Regions from separate parts of the Homo sapiens genome. Here region 2 is linked to region 1. The links are contacts of gene promoters, found by promoter capture Hi-C in human tissues and cell types (Jung and others, 2019). All regions are on one chromosome and are shown on one strand. The core of a region is centred on a gene start or on the middle of the fragment in contact, and the rest is flanking DNA. Distances in the headings are between cores, read along the strand shown. Region 1 holds the start of DLX1 (distal-less homeobox 1). Region 2 overlaps SLC25A12 (solute carrier family 25 member 12).

Region 1 (4,240 bases), core at 999-3,498:
TTGTGATGAGGGGAGAACCGGGATCCAGGCCTTAGCCTGCCAGGGGCTCAGTCCGACCGTGGCTACCGCCTGCGGAAGATACAGCGCCTGCATAACACCGAGCCAGCAATTCCAATATCAACATCAATAAAAAGAATCGAAAACCTAGGAAGGAGTGGAGGAAATTTATTTGCAACGCGACCCAACTTTTCTATGCGCCATCTTTTCTGCCCTTGAGTTGGGACGGACTAAGGAGGCCTCAAGGTTTTGCTGAACTTCTCTTTGGATTCAAAACCATTCTTGCACTAGTGTCTGTTTGCTTTCTCCAGCTCTGCTCCAAATCCCGGACCGGACGTCGGAAACCCGCGCCCGCCGCCGTCAGGAACGCTCACGGGCTCCCCGGAGTCTTACAGAAAGCCGGGAAGGAAGGTCCCGTTTCTTCTCTAAGGTCTGGGACTTGAGAGGTGAGAGGGCGGAGGAAAGGATCTCCCCCCACCCCCAACCGGTAAGAAGGAGGAGGAGGAGGGAGGCTGAGGCGCGGACCCAGGCCCCGAGTGATTAGTCACACAATTTAAAGGCAAAGGAGGGATTAAGCCCGGAGTCTATTGTTCCAGTTGTTTAGGCACGTGTGACCTCTGAGTTCCCAAACAAATCGTCTGGGGAAATCCTTCCTGCGCCCTAATCAGATTGTCCAGGGACAGAGGGCCGGACGGCAGGCAGCTCGGGATACCGAGAGCAGTGACAGAGCTAGGGCAGAGGGAATGAGGGAGGAAGGAGACACGCTGAGAGCCAGGGGTGGACACAAACACATACACACAGTGACACCCCGACCCTGAGTCCCAGCGAGCAACAAATGAAGACCCGGGCGCAGGCCGGCCGCGGAAAGCCTGCGTGGCAGAACGGAGCGGCAGCGGCGAGGTACCTGAGTCTGTGTGAGTCCCAAAGAGGCCGCGAGCTCCGCCCTCTCCGGCAGAGCTAGGTACTGAGTTTGCTGGAACCTCCGGTTCAAAGCCTGCAACTGCAAACTGGAATAAATCGTCCTGGGTTTACGGATCTTTTTTCCCTTGCCATTGAAGCGCACTTCACCGCCTTCCACCACCGTGCTCTTCTCCGAGTCCGCCCCTGGAGGGACAGCAGAAGTAGGGCCCGTTGTTAATACGAGGGGCCGCCTTTAGTGCGAACAGCCGAGAGCGAGTGGCTACCGAAGGGTGGCGGAGGCAGCACCAGGGAGAGAACGTTCAAGAAACTCTGAAAGCCAGGGAAGGGTCCCCCAAAATCCGAGGGCCTGTCCCGGGACGCTGCAGGAGGGATAGAGCCGTTCCCAGGAGCTCAGCTCCTGCCTTTGCAGGGAAAGTTTGCTATTTTTGCAGGCGGTAGTTGAGGTTTAATTACCCTTAATTGCATACATTGTTTATAGCGCTACGCAATAAATAATTACCGAGACTAATACGTGCACATGTGGGTTTCTGTTTTCCAGCGGGGCATTGTGTGCTCTGCACACCGAGCCGCCCAGAGGCCCAGCCAGTGCCAGGAGACGCTCTGGGATTTATCCTTGGCTGGATAGTTGCAAATTGAGGGAATTTTTAAAAAAATTTATTTGCTGTGACAAGGATCTATAGATTGATATTCGAAACCTCCACTGCTCCCGCGCCCTCCCCACCCCCACCCCACCTCGCTCTCCTCTCTTCTCTTTCTCTCTCTCTCCCTCTCCTCTTCTCCCCCGCTCCTTCTTTCCCTCTCTCCCTTGTACCTCCTCCTCTCCCTCTCCCTGGCAAGCGCACGTACCTGGGTCCTCCAGGCGGCTCTGGGCGAGGCTGGCGCTGCCCGGGTAGGACTGCACCGAACTGATGTAGGGGCTGGATGCGTGGCTGCTGACCGAGTTGACGTAGGGGTAGCCCAGCGGTCGGGAGAAGGACGAGGCTGAGCTGTAGGCGCCGTCGGGCTGCGAATGGCCCGCCGAGTGTAAACAGTGCATGGAGTAGTGCCCGTGGGACATGGGAGAAGGAGACATTTGCTGGTTGGGCGGCCCAAACTCCATAAACACCGCCTTGCCCGACACGGGGCTGTTGAGACTTTCTGGCATGGTGGTCATGGTCATCTCTTCTCGCGGGGTCTGGGTGTGGGACTTTCTCTCCTCTGCTTCCCTTTTGGGGGTCTCTATGTTTCTCAGGACAGGAAGGAACCCAATTTAAGCGGAACAGGGGTTTTCACTTTCCATTCATAAGAAAATGGAGTTTGTCTCTTTGAAAAGTCTAAGCATGATGCTGCTGAGCTCCCCAAACTCGGTTCAAAGCTTTGACTCAGCGAAGGTCATAAATATTCATGAGCTGGCGGAGCTGATTGGTCCGCTGTCTTGCATAATCACTGGGGATTGGTCCGAGGCGCTCGGGCTCCGCTGGACTAGAGCGGGCGAGGCGGCCCGGCCTCGGGTAAGACGCATCCACACTTCCCGGCCGGGGCTCCTCTGCAACAGAGCGCGCCGGGCAGGAAGCACAATGGGCTGCGGCGTCTGCGCCGGGGCCCCTGCGGCCCGCGGCTCATCGGCCTCCCGCCTCCCTCGCGCGCTTTCCTCCCCAGGAACCAACCAGCGGCTCCGCGCCGCCGCCCCCCTACCACTGTCCCCACCCTTCAGCGGTCCCTAACACCGGACACCCGGGACCGCTTCTCGTCGCTGCCACTCAGTTCGGCGCAGAGCTAGGGCGGCTCAGGAGGAGACTGACCTCTGCCTCTGGAGCGCGGAGTCGCGCACTGGGGGCGCCCGAGGCGGCCAACAGACAGAGGTTCTCCTAAGAGCCTTGTGCCTAGCGCAGCGCCTATCCGGCCGCGCCTCCCCGGTACGCTCTGCCGCATCCCTGGAGTCGGGGCTTAGGGGCCCTCCCTGCGAACTCACTCACTCGGCCGCTGCGCCAACGCCGCTGTCGCTCCCTGGGGCCCGCTCGCATTGCTCCAGGCCCAGCTGGCCACTCCAGCTCGAGGCTGCACGGGTCTGATTAAAGCAGTGCGCGTGGAGAGCCAGGAACCCGCGCTTCTCCTCCCAGGAAAGGCGGCTGCACCGCCCCCTCCCCCAACACACACATCCTCTTTCCCTCCCAGCCTTCCTCCTCCTCCCCCTCCCTTCTCCACTCCCCATGCGCGGAGAGCCCCGGGCTCACTCGCCCCGAGAGCGCGGCTCAGCGTGGAGCCCAGGGGGCCTAGGGGCTCAGATCTGCTGGAGCCACCGACGCCAGGTGGTCATTTTCCGGCCTCCTGAGGTCTAGCGCGACTTCCAGAGTTTAGGAGTCCCTGGGGGACACCGAAACCCGCAGCAAACCCAGGCCTGTGGTAGGCTCCCTTATCTATGTGTAGACGTCTCTCGTTGCCACCCAGGATCTTCCTCACCTCCAGTGGCCAAAGCGCGCGCCACCAGGCCTAGGGGGCAGGGCTAGTGGAGGCAAGATCTGCCGCTGCTCCTTCTGTCTTCTGGGGTGCTAGGTACAAAAAAGTGCACAAGAGCCCCCACCCCATCGCCACTACTACCAATACAGCCAGTCCCTCGCGGTGTGGCGTACACCACCCTGGCTGTAAGTGGATGTTGGTTCCCCATCCCGCCAGCCCCACGGTGAATCCCAAATTACTTTGTTAGGTAATTAGAAAGTGTTGATAATTATTTCTTTCATAATTTAGCGGTGTGACGGGAACGGGGAAATGATCTTGTGAAAGTTCACACGTGCAGATGTATTAGTTACTGATTCATTTGATTAAATGGTAGTCTCAAGTGCTCAGATCCGCAGCTGAAGGCGCCCCATTAGCATAACACTGATGTTTAATTTTCATACGCATAATTAGCCATATATTTAACACTAATAGCAACATGCAGCCTTTCAGCGTTAAACAGCCCGGGATTTGATCTGGCCTGAGCTGAACCTTCATCGCTGCACCTTCCCCTGTCTGGAGTGTGCAATGATCACAGGACAAACCTCTGTAATCAAGCACATTTTGGCAGAGGGAACACCAATAAAAATGAACATTCAAAACAAATTACATCGGTGCTGTCGTTACAGATATTAGTAGAGGGGGTTTCTCTTTTTTTTTAACTTCTGTACCAGCTGCTGCTGCCCGCAGAATTCCTCTCCTTTGGTTTAAGGGCACAATGCTGGGGGCAGAAATATTTCAGGCAGAGTGGTTGGAGCAAAAAGAAAAGCAAAAGCAAAAAAAACCCAATACGCCAAACCAATAACGGGTTTGCCAACGTTTAAAAGATTTTTTTTTTCTTAATCACCGA
Region 2 (3,860 bases), core at 955-3,454, 270 kb after region 1:
ATCTGGTGAAGACCCGAATGCAAAACCAGCGTGGCTCTGGCTCTGTTGTTGGGGAGCTAATGTACAAAAACAGCTTTGACTGTTTTAAGAAAGTCTTGCGTTATGAGGGCTTCTTTGGACTCTACAGGGGTGAGTAAGCAAATCCCAGCTGCTGAAGTTAGTGATTTGATCTCACCAGCAGCAGATTTTAACTCACTAATTATGGAAGCCAATATGTAGTATGCCTAGCCAGACTAGGTCTGTTTCTCTCTTTTTATTTTCTCTTTGCTCATTTCCCTTTTTGCATTCTTTCTGGTGATTAGCAATATTAATCTGCAAATAAGGTCTTCATTTCTTCTTCTTGTGGTTTATATTTCTTGGTGTCCAAATTATGTGTTTGTCCCAACATGGGTCTATGTCACCATGCTCCTACAAACCAAGGCACATATCTGCAGGTGGAATACAAGGATGATAGTTAAGAAATATAGAGCTGCTTTTCTCAAAGAATTAAAGAGGAGAAATACATCTCTTTCCTGTGAAAAAGAATCCAGGTTACCACTCAAAGATGAGTTTACCCTCCATATATTTATTTCAACTGAAATAAATATCAAATGTTTTTGTCTCTTTCAGGGACCATTTATAAATTTTTTCCAATGAGCCATCTGAAGGTTTAAAAAAAAAAAAAAAAAGGAAAACCCTTTGGTTCCAAGTCTAATTCTTGCTTCTTTCCCCCACTTAGCTCAGAGGTGTACAGTCAAAACAGAGAGATTTTCTTTCGCAGGGAATGTTAGCAGCCACTCTAGACTGAGCACAGTGCAGTTGGCATCAGAGGCAGCACTGCGCCCCATGCAGAATTTTCCCCACCCCCCGTTGTCTTTGTAGGAACTTGTCTCTTTGGAGAGAGAATGACTTTCATGTATGTGTTTTCACATTAGAATATAGGGTTTCCTTTGGGAGGGAGATTAATTTTTTAATCTCTTTGGGCGCCACTTGGGATTCTATGAAAATACTCTCTACATGCTCAAGTCCATGCCATTTATGTAATTTACTGTACTTGTTTGTTTGCACATACAAGCTCATTAATCCCTAGCCTATTCTGAGCTCTGTTGAACTATTTGGCTTAGAAATCTTCCTAAGAAAGACTGGGCCCGAACAGAGCTTTATGCTCATGGACAGGAGGAAAAAAACACCGCTGGTTAGCATTATATACAGGTATTCAAGCAAAAAATATAACTCCGATAAACTCATAATTGAAGTAGAGGGTCACAAGGATGTTCATTTTTAGCATTATATATAGAATAATAGGAGAGAGTTATTCCGAAATCAAACTAGGCTCAAGTACCCTGCTCTTGAGAATGAATGTGATGAGTTTTCCTCAAATATTCAGAACTGTAGTCTCTTTGAATTCCACCTGTACAGCATGTACCCTGTGGAAAGGCGTACAATATCCAGAATGCAGACCTTTCCATGTGAATGCTTGTTTTAACTGATTAAACCCTGCATATCCAGATTTTATTTAATGGGGAATCAAGGTTGAGTGGCATTAAGGTTGTTTTTTTCCTTGATATCTCCAATATTTCTTTGTTGAATAATGACCTTTCTCCTCTTTGGTATACTTTTAAATTGCAAAGAAAATGTCCCCTATTAAAAGGAACCTAGATATTTACTGCATAGTTTAGCCTTCTCAATGGATAGATGCTTACAGAAGATTTCATTTGAGAGAGATGTCATGTTTATTAAATGGATGCAATATAGCAAGTAGGGGAGGGGATTGTTGGTTTTATTCAGGATGTAAGCTCATAAAAGCAGTTCTTTAAATGAGAGACTTTTGTATTAGGGAGAAGATTGTAGGAGTCCTGTATGTGAGCACTATGATTATTGAGATTGTCATATATTGCTTGCAACTGGTCCATTATTCTGTCAGATGATTGACAAAATTGTTGACAGATTAGCTAAATTTCTTCGCAGGCAACAATGATAAAATGACACAAATCAGTACTTTATTAAATTCCATGAGCCTTATTGAGGCGAGTTGTAAAACAAATATGCATGCTGACATGGTTGTATGGGAGTTAGATTAAAAGTAATAGAGCCTGATAATCACGAGGGTTAGAAAGTTAATACTGCCATCTGCTGATTTGTTCTTTTAAATCAGTCTGCTACGCATGAAAGGTGTGTGAGGCTTTGTGTGTATCATTGATAATTCAGCCTGACTGACAGTAGCCTATATGTATGATTACTTGTGGCTCTCAACTTATGGAACTCAGCAGTATCCTCAAAGCAGGCTTAAGATCAGCAGTCAGCAAGCAGGCAAACACATATATAACTCCCCTTTGGCTGGATGATTTAAAGGATATAAAATGTTTATTGTTAGCATCTTTAAAAAATGTATGCAAAAAAGTATGCTAACAATTTGGATAAGCTGTGTGCTTTAGAAAGCTGAGCCCAACAGATGTTGAATTGTTTATTTTTTTCTTTTCCAGTTTACAACCAGCCTGGGGAATTTAACTTTCTAAGGATTATGATTTCCTTTGTTTTGAGGGGATTCTTTTAAAATGTCTTAAGCTTGACATATATTAGTCAATAAGAATACAACAGGCATATGTTTTTGCTTATAGGAGATACTCGTTAAACAATACTTAAAACTGCATTTTTCTTTGCAGTTTTGGCTTCCTTTTAAATAAATGAATATTGAATGCTGTGTTTCTCTGAAGAGAAGATTATGGGAGTTAGTATTCTATAATAACGAAGCCACTGTATGCCATTATGTAGGTAGCAAAATCTGGGTATGCTTAACAGCATGCTTTTCAGAGCTTTTCCAAGTGTACAGTATCTGTGTATGTTTATATGTTGTTGGTTGTAATAAGGGAGGGAATTTGGTTACATTGTTATTGGCAGTGTTCCCAGAATAGAGAAGACGCATGGCTCCGTTTCTTCTTCATGGACTTTTTGGGAAGTGTTGGATAACTAGGCTTTAAAGTAAGCATGCTTAAGAAGAGGATTTATAGCCTCAAGAAAACGTGACATTATACTGCATTTGTAAATAATTATTACATATGTATACAGAGTTTTAAGGATAATCTTTTTCCCATTTTAATGAAAACTCTGCAATGTTTGATGGGTAAATAATATGGGGGAAACTCTTTGTTGCTGGGCTTGTGTATTCATGTCTGGTACAGCTATATTGCTGATGATTCTGTCCCTTTACCTAGGTCTGATACCACAACTTATAGGGGTTGCTCCAGAAAAGGCCATTAAACTGACTGTAAGTTTATCTCTAACTGAATTTATGTCATTTGTTTAGATTACCATTAAGCCAAAAAGCTAAAATCAAGGCTAGGCGTGGTAGCTCATGCCTATAATCTCAGCATTTTGGGTGGTGGGAGGATCACTTGAGACCAGTTCTAAACCAGCATAAGCATAGTAAGAACTCAGCTCTACCAAAACAACAACAACAACAACAAAATTAAAAATTAGCCAAGTGTGGTGATTTATGCCAGGAGGCTGATGTGGGAGGATTGCTTGAGTCCAGGAATTTGAGGCTGTAGTGAGCTATGATCATGCCACTGCACTCCAGCCTGAGCAACAGAGTGAGACCCTGTCTCAAAAACAAAACTAAAATTGATGCTGCTGACACTGGCACACTGTCGCAGAATTTGTACAACTTTAATTTTACATGTAAGCATTTGATAATTTTAAATTTTATCATAAGACAAATATTTTGCTGACTTGGAAAAGCAACAGTATGCCAGAAGAGAAATGGTTGGGAATTTTGGTTAACTGATGTTGTCTTTCTAATTAGGTTAATGATTTTGTTCGGGACAAATTTACCAGAAGAGATGGCTCTGTTCCACTTCCAGCAGAAGTTCTTGCTGGAGGCT

What was found. The method cuts DNA at HindIII sites, captures the fragments that hold promoters and counts their contacts. A contact is called where the count stands out against the background at its distance.
Region 2: a contact is called between a fragment that was not itself captured here and the fragment with the promoter of DLX1 in region 1, in 4 of the 25 tissues and cell types used here (H1 embryonic stem cells, adrenal gland, heart right ventricle and 1 more).

Annotation. Positions count from the first base shown.
Region 1 is chr2:172,083,515-172,087,754 of GRCh38, reverse strand. DLX1 (distal-less homeobox 1) reads right to left here and starts at 2,248. Exons shown (of 3, transcript NM_178120.5): 1 at 1,765-2,248; 2 at 902-1,101. The coding sequence starts at 2,077. RefSeq lists enhancers at 1,377-1,988, 2,020-2,139, 1,989-2,602, 2,603-3,214, 3,215-3,828 and 1 more and a silencer at 2,420-2,529. The HindIII fragment of the contact is 6,806 bases long and covers 301-4,240 here.
Region 2 is chr2:171,809,608-171,813,467 of GRCh38, reverse strand. It overlaps SLC25A12 (solute carrier family 25 member 12), which reads left to right. Exons shown (of 18, transcript NM_003705.5): 11 at 1-129; 12 at 3,192-3,244; 13 at 3,782-3,860. Among named protein-coding and RNA genes, the nearest start is that of SLC25A12, 83 kb to the left of the region's middle. The HindIII fragment of the contact is 4,001 bases long and covers 204-3,860 here.